Linked DNA regions of Homo sapiens: regions 1 and 3 are each linked to region 2. The links are contacts of gene promoters, found by promoter capture Hi-C in human tissues and cell types (Jung and others, 2019). All regions are on one chromosome and are shown on one strand. The core of a region is centred on a gene start or on the middle of the fragment in contact, and the rest is flanking DNA. Distances in the headings are between cores, read along the strand shown.

What was found. The method cuts DNA at HindIII sites, captures the fragments that hold promoters and counts their contacts. A contact is called where the count stands out against the background at its distance.
Region 1: a contact is called between the fragment with the promoter of PTGIR here and the fragment with the promoter of BBC3 in region 2, in 1 of the 25 tissues and cell types used here (adrenal gland).
Region 3: a fragment that was not itself captured here is called in contact with the fragment with the promoter of BBC3 in region 2 in 1 of the 25 tissues and cell types used here (aorta).

The regions. Positions count from the first base shown.
Region 1 is chr19:46,623,833-46,627,624 of GRCh38, reverse strand. PTGIR (prostaglandin I2 receptor) reads left to right here and starts at 2,536. Exons shown (of 3, transcript NM_000960.4): 1 at 2,536-2,628; 2 at 3,388-3,792. The coding sequence starts at 3,400. RefSeq lists an enhancer at 1,821-2,321. The HindIII fragment of the contact is 28,599 bases long and covers 1-3,792 here.
Region 2 is chr19:47,229,620-47,233,201 of GRCh38, reverse strand. It overlaps BBC3 (BCL2 binding component 3), which reads left to right and starts at 2,003. Exons shown (of 4, transcript NM_014417.5): 1 at 2,003-2,273. RefSeq lists enhancers at 467-736, 163-786, 1,496-1,615 and silencers at 1,756-1,985, 2,126-2,845. The HindIII fragment of the contact is 48,720 bases long and covers 1-3,582 here.
Region 3 is chr19:48,099,536-48,103,360 of GRCh38, reverse strand. PLA2G4C (phospholipase A2 group IVC) reads left to right here. Exons shown (of 17, transcript NM_003706.3): 5 at 3,501-3,690. Among named protein-coding and RNA genes, the nearest start is that of PLA2G4C, 9.4 kb to the left of the region's middle. The HindIII fragment of the contact is 8,459 bases long and covers 1-3,825 here.

The DNA.
Region 1 (3,792 bases), core at 1,287-3,786, 610 kb after region 2:
CCTCATTAGGAGGGAGTCACAGTCACTGCCACCCCTACCTGCTCCTGATGCAGGAACACAGAACCGATCCTGGGGTTGCGAGGGCTCATGACTCCTAGTGGCATCGGCGGGGAAACTGAGGCCTGAGGCCAGGCGTGGTGGCCTATAATCCCAGCACTTTGGGAAGCCGAGGTAGGCAGATCACTTGAGTCCAGGAGTTTGAGACCAGCCTGGGTGACACAGTGAAACCCTGTCTTTACAAAAATACAAAAATTAGCTAGCGTGGCAGTGGGTGCCTGTAGTCCCAGCTACTCAGGAGGCTGAGGTGGGAGGATCGCTTGAACCCCAGAGGTAGAGGTTGCAGTGAACCGAGATTGCAGCACTACACTCCAGCCTGGGTGACAGAGCAAGACCCTGTCTCAAAAACAAACGAACAGCCAGGCAAGGTGGTTCACGCCTGTAATCCCAGCACTATGGGAGGCCGAGGCGGGCGGATCACCTGAGGTCAGGCGTTCAAGACCAGCCTGGCCAACATGGTGAAACCCCACCTCTACTAAAAATATAAAAATTGGGCGCAGTGGCACATGCCTGTAATCCCAGCTACTCGGGAGGCTGAGGCACGAGAGTCGCTTGAACCCGGGAGGCGGAGGTTGCAGTGAGCTGAGATCATGCCAGTGTACTCCAGCCTGGGTGACAGAGCAAGATTCCATCTCAAAACAAAAACAAACAAGCAAAAAGAAAAACAACAACAAAAAAGAAACTGAGGCCTGGAAGGGACAAGGGTTTGACTGTGGTCCCACTGGGCATGGGAGCAGAGGGGACTTCCTGAATGTTAACCGTCCTTGTAACAGGAAGCGAGAGAGGGAGTCTCCGGGAACCAGAGGCCCCCCCGATGCCGAAACAAGATGCACGCCTGCCAGGCATCATCCTTCATTAATATGATATAACTTCCTGAGTTCCCTCTGGTCTGTCTGGGGACCTCACGGCATGAGGCGGGACAACGTGGCAGGACCTGGAGCCCACATGTACAGGCACCCCCAGAGCAGGGCTGGGGGGTCCCTTAGGGAGCCACGGTGGGGCTGGAACTTGGGCGTCCATCCTGCTGGAAGCTGCGGGTGCCAGCTGGGCAAGGGTGATAGGGAGATGGGGGGGAGGGGCAAAGGGGTTGTGGTCACACACCGGGGTACAGAGGGCAAGACGGCAGCTGCCCACAGTCCAGTCCTTGGGTTGGACACATCCCTCCTGGCCTTGGACAAGAGACACCCGCACAGCCTCTCTCCTTGTTACAAAGACCAATCTGGGATGTGCTGCAGGCCGAGGCTGGCCACCAGGTCCCTGAGGCCCGTGTTACCCCACGCACAGAGAAGGAGGCTGAAGTCTACCAGCTCCCTCTCCTCACCTGGGACCATCTCGCAGCAAGAAAAAAGGTGGTCAGATGGAAACAGGAAGCCAAGTCGAATGGATCTGAGACCGTCCCCCTGAGAAACAGCGGGGCTCAGAGAGGGTCTCTGAGGTTTTATCTGGCCCTTTTGGGCTGGGAGGCTGCCTGGGAAGCCACCGACTCCGTGGGAAGGGAGACCCGTGAACGCTGTGCGGGTAGCGGGAACATGTGGGTCTGTCACACTGGCCCGAGGCTGCAGCGGTGGTGGCTTGGCTGTGTTTGGGGAGGGTGGGGGACACATGGCAGCAATGTTGGAGCTGTGGACAGCTTCCTGTGATCAAAATATGATTCCTGAAGGTCAAGGTCACCAGAGCTTGGCCTGGGGCCTAGGGGTGCTGTGCGAGAAGTCGGACGGTGGCCCAGTGCTACCTTTCCATCATGGGCCATGGAAGTCTCCCAAGCCTGTCCCTGACAACTGGACACCAAATACACCCCTTCATGCTTTCTTCTCGGGTCTCTGCAGGGTGAGCTGGGTGCCCAGGGACAGGCTCGAGGGACTGGCATGTCTCTCTCTGGCCAAGCCTCCTTCCTCAGCTTTCTGGAAGGAGTGAATTGTGTCCAGGGACCAGAACTCTCAGTGGTGTCTGGAAAACACTACATCAGAGAGGAATTTCCTGGTCATTTCTCAATCCCTGGGCAATGTCCTCAGCCCCGGGGCCTGGAGCCCAGAATAGATCCCAGAGGCCACCCTGAGACAGCCCAGGCCAAGACCACCCCACTGAAGCCTGGTCAACTGTGCTCTTCAGGTCCCTCCTAGAGGCCCCCTACTACCCCGGGAGGCTCCAAGCCTAAGTGATGGTGACTCAGGAATTCCCCACCCAGGCCAGAGAGGGAGACACTGGGGGAGGGAGGAGACCTGTGTGTGGGGAGGTGGCAGGTGGCTCAGTGATGGGAACCAAGAGAGGATGTGGGGAGGAGAGTGGAGGCAGCGATGGGAGATGGATGTCCTGGATTGGGCGGGTGGACGGGGAGTGGGGAGTGTGCCAGGGGGCCCTCTGGAGAACAGTGAGGGAGGGCGGGGCAGAGAGAGGAAATGAAAAAGCTGGGGTGAGCAGGCAAGCTGAGGAGGGTGGGAAGGAGGGAGGGACGGAGGGAGGAGGGAAGGAGAAGCTGACACACAGACCGACACAGGCAGCGAGAGACACGAGGAGCAAAGCAAGTGAAGGCACAGACGCACGGGACAGGAGAGCCTGGGCAAGACTGGAGAGGTGCGGTGAGGGGCTGGGGATGCAGCAACACAGAGCAGGAGCAGGTAGAGGGTGTGGGGTTAGAGGGAGAAAGGTACGGGGAGGACAAGGACAAGGGAGGGGACAGAGACAGGGAGATATCAGCAAGAGACCGAGAGACAGGGAGGGAAAGAACTGGCAATGCCCGGATGTTCTCTGTCTCTTTAATGGCAGAAACAGAGCTAGAGAAGGAAAGAAACAGGAGGTGGTGGGGGGGTGGTGGGTGTCAGGCATGGTGGCTCACACCTGTAATCTCAGCACTTTGGGAAGCCAAGGTGGATGGATCACCTGAGGTCAGGAGTTCGAGACCAGCCTGACCAACATGGTGGAACCCCGTCTCTACTGAAAATACAAAAATTAGCTGGGCGTGGTAGTGGACGCCTGTAATCTCATCTACTCCAGAGGCTGGGGCAGGAGAATCGCTTGAACCCAGGAGGTGGAGGTTGCAGTGAGCCGAGATCATGCCATTGCTCTCCATCCTGGACAACAGAGTGAGACTCTGTCTCAAAAGAAACGAAAGAAAAGAAAGAGAGAAAGAGAAACAGGAAGGTGGGGAGAGACAGAGAGAGATACTGGAGAAGCCAGAGGGGAGAGGACTGCATACCCGCACACACAGGAGAACTGGGGGTTGGCTGGGAGGCCCCAGCTGCCAAAAGGACTGGCCAGCAGGGACATCTGAGTGGGCTGGGTGGTGGGGGTAGCCCTGGCTCCCTCTGACCCCCCACCTTGGGAACCCTCCAGCCCAGACCTGGGATGGCGGATTCGTGCAGGAACCTCACCTACGTGCGGGGCTCGGTGGGGCCGGCCACCAGCACCCTGATGTTCGTGGCCGGTGTGGTGGGCAACGGGCTGGCCCTGGGCATCCTGAGCGCACGGCGACCGGCGCGCCCCTCGGCCTTCGCGGTGCTGGTGACCGGACTGGCGGCCACCGACCTGCTGGGCACCAGCTTCCTGAGCCCGGCCGTGTTCGTGGCCTATGCGCGCAACAGCTCCCTGCTGGGCCTGGCCCGAGGCGGCCCCGCCCTGTGCGATGCCTTCGCCTTCGCCATGACCTTCTTCGGCCTGGCGTCCATGCTCATCCTCTTTGCCATGGCCGTGGAGCGCTGCCTGGCGCTGAGCCACCCCTACCTCTACGCGCAGCTGGAC
Region 2 (3,582 bases), core at 754-3,253:
TAGGGAGGCTGAGGCAGAAGACTTGCTTGAACCCAGGAGGCGGAGGTGGCAATGAGCCGAGATCATGCCACTGAACTCCAGCCTGGGCGACAGCGCGAGACTCTGTCTCAAAAAAAAAAAAAAAAGTAAGATCCATGTAAGTGATGTCATATGTCATAATCCATGGTTTACTCATGACCCACAGTTTGGAAAACACCAGGAAGAAGGAAGGGACAATGAATAATCGGGGAAAGCGAAAGAGGAGGGAAAGTGAAAGAGGGAGGAAAGCTGAGGAGTTCCCAATGTTGCAAATGGGGAGATTTCACGTGAGATATAGATTACCTGCATCTCTTGGGGGAGCTAAGAGTGTGTACTTGGAGGCAGTCAAGTTTGAGAAGTCTGACATCCTTACTCAGCCAGCCCCACACTAGGCACTGGAAGGTGAGTCACTCTGGTGAGGCGATTGCGATTGGGTGAGACCCAGTAAGGATGGAAAGTGTAGAGGAGACAGGAATCCACGGCTTTGGAAAAAGGAAGGACAAAACTCACCAAACCAGAGCAGGGCAGGAAGTAACAATGAGAAACTGAAAAAGAAACGGAATGGAAAGCTATGAGACAGGATGAAATTTGGCATGGGGTCTGCCCAGGCATGTCCATGCCAGGTGCCCAGGGCTGCTTCCACGACGTGGGTCCCCTGCCAGATTTGTGGTGAGTGTGGCCAGGTGTGCATGCTCCGACGTGTGTGCAGTGGGCCAGTTAGCAAGAAGCTGTCACAGGTGTGACTTTGTGACATGTGTGGGTGGTCAGTTTCTTCTATGTCTGATTTGGTTTGTGTCTCTGAATGTCAGTTTCTTTCCTTTATTTTTATTTTTAAGACGGAGTTTGCTCTTGTTGCCCAGGCTAGAGTGCAATGGCACTATCTCGGCTCACTGCAACCTCCGCCTCCCGGGTTCAAGCAGTTCTCCTGCCTCAGCCTCCCAAGTAGCTGGGATTACAGGCATGCGCCACAACGCCCGGCTAATTTTGTATTTTTAGTAGAGATGGGGTTTCATCATGTTGGTCAGGCTGGTCTCGAATTCCTGACCTCAGGCAGTCCACGCACCTTGGCCTCCCAAAGTGCTGGGATTACAGGCATGAGCCACCGTGTCGGGCGAATGTCACTTTCTGATAGTTTTAATGTGTTAGCTGTGAAATTGTGTGAGTGCATTTGTGTATGTCCCTGTGGGAGTGTGATTTGGATTTGGCCGTGTATCCAGGTATCCCTGTAACAGGTGTCTGTGTGTATGTGTGTGTCCCCTGTGCCTATCAGCAAGTTTGTGTTTCCTGATAAGCACTCCGCCTATGTCTGTGTGGTTGCACCACCGTGTGTGTGGTGTGGGTGCCTGTTCGGTAGGGTTGTTTGTGAACACAGTTTGTGGGCCCAGGTGTGATCATCAGTGTGGGTGTTTCTGCAACTGTGTGTGGCCCTGTCATTGTGTCCGTCTGCTTGTCCAGGGGACCCTGTTAGTGAGTCTGTGCATTTCCGTCTGGGTGTGTGTAAGTGTGAGCCCCATCAGTATGTGAGTGTGTGTGCTCATGCCCCTGTCCATGGTGTGGATTTGCGAGACTGTGGCCTTGTGTCTGTGAGTACATCCTCTGGGCTCTGCCTGCACGTGACTTTGTGGACCCTGGAACGCCCGTCGGTCGGTCTGTGTACGCATCGCTGGGGGTGTGGATCTGTGGGTCCCAGTCAGTGTGTGTGTCCGACTGTCCCGGTGTCTGGGCGATCTCCCCACACCCCGCCGCACAGCGCCTGGGTCCTCCTTGCCTTGGGCTAGGCCCTGCCCCGTCCCCCGCTGCAGGGAAACCCCCGGCGCGGAGGTAGGGGGGGGCGCGGCGCGCGCCTGCAAGTCCTGACTTGTCCGCGGCGGGCGGGCGGGGCCGTAGCGTCACGCGGGGGCGGGGCGTGGGACCCGCCGGGCGGGGGCGGGGCGGGGCGGGGCGGGGCGGCTTTGGAGCGGGCCCGGGATCCGCCGGGCGGCCTGAGACGCGGCGCGAGCCACATGCGAGCGGGCGCCTGGCGGCGGCGGCGGCGGCACCAGCGATCCCAGCAGCGGCCACGACGCGGACGCGCCTGCGGCCCGGGGAGCAGCAGCAGCCACAGCCACAGCAGCCGCCACTGCAGTTAGAGCGGCAGCAGCAGCGACAGCCACAGCAGCAGCCGCCGCGGAGAGCGGCGCTCGGCGGGCGCGCCCTCCTGAAGGAAGCCGCCCGCCCCCCACCGCCGCCCCCTCCGGCGTGTTCATGCCCCCGGGGTGAGTGTGCGCGCCCCGAATCCTCTCCGGCGGCGATCGGCCAGGCCGGGTGGACTCCCTGGAGGAGGTGACAGGAGTGCAGGCGGAGAGCAGTGTGGGCGCCCTGCCTCCCCACACCGCGCCTCTCCAAACCCCGCGAGGGACCCTGGGCCAGGGTCGCCGGGTGAGAGGCGGCTCGGCGTTGGGGCGCCGGTCTGGGCGCACAGGTGCCTCGGCGGTCTGGCGGGTTTGTTTACAAACAATGGGGTGCGGGCTCGGCAGCGCCCCCTGGCGGCCAGTGCGGCCCCGGGGAAGAGGGTCGACCCCAGGGGTGCCCCAGCCCCCAAAGTCCGGGAGGGGCGGGGGGGCGGCACGGAGGGGCGGCCACACCCAGGGCGCGCGCCCGCTGGGGGCGGCGACGGGGGGCGGCTCGCGGGCCGTGGAGTCTGCGGCTCCTGCGGGCGGGGGCTGCGCCCCAGCAACAGCCGGTTATTGGCCCCGCGCTCGCCTGGCGGGCGGGGCGGGCGCACGTGGCGGCGGTGGGGGGGGCTGTGACAGCGGAGGGGGGTGTCTGGGACCGCCGTGGGAGCGCGCGTGTGCGGGGTTGTGGATCTGCAGGTGTCTCGCCTGGGTGTGTGCGCGTGTCTGGCTCCGAGTTTGTGCTGGGTTCTGCAGGGAGTGGTGGTGTCGATCCAGAGGAATGTTGGGGTTTCTGACCCGTCGGGGTGTCTGCGTGAGTCCCCGCGCCTGTTTGTGTGGGGTTCTGTCTGTGGGTGCCCTGCTTGTGGGGTGGGTGGACCTGCGTGTGTTGTCGGTGAGAGTTGTCTGTGTGTGCTGTTCCGGGATGATACTGGGGGTCTGTGGTGCCTGCGTGTGCTGGGGTGTGGAGGTTGTAGTGTGTGTGTGTTGCTGGAGTGAGCTGTTTGTGTGTTTATGTGTGTGTCTTGCCCGAGCGTGCGATATGTGTGCTTGTGTCTTGCCTGTGTGTTTCTGTCTTGGCTGAGGCCGTCTCTGTATCTCCGGGGCATGTGTCTTTTGCCCAGCGTTTGTGATGCTGCGCCTGCTAAATGCAAATGTCTGTTTTCTGTCCAGGTGTCTGTGTGAGTTGTCAGGTGTGAGTGTGTGTGTGTATGTATGTGTGTGGTGGGGGGTTGTTTCAGTCTGGGTTTGGCTTGTGTGTCTGGCATCAGCGTCTGGGATTTGAGGACCCAGGATCTGTGGGGTCTATGCAGTGTAGACGGTGGGTGTTGCTGGCAGCCTCTGGATGGGGTTGTGTCTGAGCCTGTGTGTGTGTGTGTGTGTTGGGTCTGAGGGGCTTGTCACTGTGATC
Region 3 (3,825 bases), core at 490-2,989, 870 kb before region 2:
GGAAAGGTCCTGCAGAGTCACACCGGACCCCTCTATTCCTCCAAGGCTCATCTAACATGTTGAGTGACATGGCGTGGGGGTTTAGCTGTACTGCACATTGCAGAACTCCAGGGGGCGCTATTGAGATAGGAACCCCATGATTTCTTCTGGAATCTTTCCGAGACTGCTGTGGTTAAAAAGGCAGGCCTGGCTGGACACAGGGACTCACACCTGTAATCCCAGTACTTTGGGAGGTCGAGGTGGGAGGATCTCTTGAGCCCAGGAGTTCAAGACCAGCCTGGGCAACATAGCAAGACCCCATCTCTACAAACAACAACAACGAAAGCCTTATATTTCAACAGCTTTGGGTTAGTTCCTGGAGCTGTCCTTTGTGGGCTGTTACGAGCCCAGACATACTTCTTTGTGCCTTGGTTTCCTCCGCTGTTGAGCATTGTAAGTGTGGACGATGAAGACTGGGAAAGGATGTGTGTGAGGAGGTCCTTCACAGGAACGCCTGCCTCATGGAGAGGGCGACACACAGAGGAAATGGAAAATTTACATGAAATAAATATAACTGCAGAACGGTCAAGTTCAAAGGAGCACTCAAAATCATCTGGGACAGTCCTTCCATTTCACAGGCAGGAAAATGAGAGCACGATGGGAGAAAGGCCTCATCAGAGTCAAATGTTTTTTGCAGCCAGCATTTATTAAAGGTTTACATGTGACAGCAACAAACTGTGCTGATCTCACAGGGCTGTTTGAGAATTAAATGATGAAACACATGCAAATCGTCCCAACCTGAGCTATCAAGTAGAGCTATGTAACATGAGCCACATCTATTCTATCATTTTAAATTTTCTTTCTTTCTTTTCTTTTCTTTTTTTCTTCTGGAGACACAGTCTTGCTCTTGTCGCCCAGGCTGGAGTGCAGTGGCGCGATCTTGGCTCATTGCAACCTCTACTTCCCAGGTTCAAGTGATTCTCCTGCCTCAGCCTCCCAGTTAGCTGGGATTACAGACGCGTGCCACCATGCCCAGCTAATTTTTGTATTTTTAGTAGAGACGGAGTTTCCCCGTGTTGGCCAGGCTGGTCTCAAACTTCTGACCTCAGGTGATCTGCCTGCCCTGGCTTCCCAAAGTGCTGGAATTACAGGTGTAAGCCACCATGTCCGGCCCATTTTAAATTTTCTAGTAGCCTCTTCAAGAAGGTAAAAAGAAACAGTGAAATGATCCATTTTCTTTAACCCAATATATCCAAAACATTAGCATTTTGACACATCGTTAAGAAAAAAATTGTTAATGAGATATTTGACATTCCTTTTGTCAGACTAGGTCTTTGAAAGCTGCTGGGCGTTTTATACTGAGCGCATTCCAAGTTGGATGCAGAAGTCTCATTAGATGTTAAAGGAGGCCCGGGGCAGTGGCTCACACCTGTAATCCCAGCACTTCAAGAGGCCGAGGCAGGTGGATCACCTGAGGTCAGGAGTTTGAGACCAGCCTGGCCAACACGGTGAAACCCTGTCTCTACTAAAAATACAAAAATTAGCTGGGTGTGGTGGCACGCACCTGTAATCCCAGCTACTTGGGAGGCTGAGGAAGGAGAATCACTTGAATCCGGGAGGCAGAGGTTGCAGTGAGCCGAGCTCGAACCACTGTACTTCAGCCTGGGTGACAAGAGTGAAACTCCATCTCAAAAAAAAAAAAAAAAAGATATTAAAGGAAAGAACTTTTCATACCCAGCTTGTTCCAAACATACTTCAGAGTTTCCCAATAACTGAATGGAGTACCAGTGTTTAAATTTAAGCTAATTAAAATGAAATAAATATTTTAAATCATGCTAGCCACACTTCAGGGGCTCAAGAGCTATGATGTATGTTTAATACATTGGATGGTGTGAGGGTAGATAGCACCCGATAAGCAGCATTAAGAACATCAAAAATTTTTATTGAGCCCGGGCACGGTGGCTCACACCTATAATCCCAGCATTTTGGGAAGCTGAGGTGGGAGGATTGCTTCAGGCCACAAGTTTGAGACCAGCGTGGGCAACATAGTGAGACTCCATCTCTACAGAAAATAAATTTAAAAATGAGCAGGGCATGGTGATGCACCTGGTGGGTAGTGGTCCCAGCTACTTGGGAGGCTGAGGTGGGAGGATCATTTGAGCCTGGGGGTTTGAGACTGCAGTGAGCCAAGATCATGCCACTGCACTCTAGTCTGGGCAACAGAGCAAGACCTGTCTCAAAAAAAAAAAAAAAAATATATATATATATATATATATAGACTCTATGTGACACACCAGCTCCCTTGCCTTCTGCCATGAGTAGAAGCTTTTTGCACCATGCTTCTTGTACAGCCTGCAGAACTGTGAGCTAAATAAACCTCTTTTCTTTATAAATTAATATATATAATATATATTTATTGAGTGAACAAATGAATATAAAGTCTTTTTTTTCTTTTTTTTTTTCTTTTTGAGATAGAGTCTTGCTCTGTTGCCCAGGCTGGAGTGCAGTGGCGCGATCTCGGCTCACTGCAAGCTCAGCCTCCCGGGTTCACGCCATTCTCCTGCCTCAGCCTCTCGAGTAGCTAGGACTATAGTAGCTGGGTCTGCAACCACACCCAGCTAATTTTTTGTATTTTTAGTAGAGACGGGGTTTCACCATGTTAGCCAGGATGGTCTCGATCTCCTGACCTCGTGATCCGCACACCTTGGCCTCCCAAAGTGCTAGGATCACAGGCGTAAGCCACCACGCCCAGCTTTTTTTTTTTTTTTTTTTTTTTTTAGATGGAGTCACGCTCTGTCGCCCAGGCTGGAGTGCAGTGGCACAATCTCAGCTCACTGCAACCTCCACCTCCCGGGTTCAAGCGATTCCTCTGCTTCAGCCTCCTGAGCAGCTGGGACCACAGGCGTGTGCCACCATGCCTGGCTAATTTTTGTGTTTTTAGTAGAGACAGGGTTTCCTGAGTATCCGGCACTAGAGGTACCCACCACCACGCATGCCACCACGCCTGGCTAATTTTTCTGTATTTTTAGTGGAGACGGGGTTTCACCATGTTGGCCAGGCTGGTCTCGAACTCCTGACCTCAGGCAATCCTCCCGCCTCGTCCTCCCAAAGTGCTGGGATTACATGCATGAACCACCACACCTGGCCCCGTTCATTGATTTTCTAGGATTATGTGAGTTAATAGGTATAAAAGACTAAAGACAGTTTGTTGCTGTCACATATAAACCTTTTAATAAGTGCTGGCTGCAAAAAACATTTGACTCTGATGAGGCCTTTCTCCCATCGTGCTCTCATTTTCCTGCCTGTGAAATGGAAGGATTGTCCCAGATGATTTTGAGTCCTCCTTCGAACTTGATCGTTCTGCAGTTGTATTTATTTAATGGAAATTTTCCGTTTCCTCTGTGTGTCGCCCTCTCCATGAGGCAGGTGTTCCTGTGAAGGACCTCCTTGCACACATCTTTCCCCAGTCTTCATCGTCCACACTTAAAATGCCCAACTCACTCTCTTCCTCTGTCCTCCAGGGCAATATCTTCTCTCTACACCAATGATGGTGACATGGAAGCTCTCGAGGCTGACCTGAAACATCGATTTACCCGACAGGAGTGGGACTTGGCTAAGAGCCTACAGAAAACCATCCAAGCAGCGAGGTCTGAGAATTACTCTCTGACCGACTTCTGGGCCTACATGGTTATCTCTAAGCAAACCAGAGAAGTAAGTCATTCCCAGCTGGGGACCTGGGGTGGGGGTAGGAGCAAGGGGTCTCAGGGTGTGGGGTTACCAAAGATGCTGACCAGCACCACCTTTTAAGTCCTTCAGGATTTTCAAGTCATCAAAATCTGGGCACTT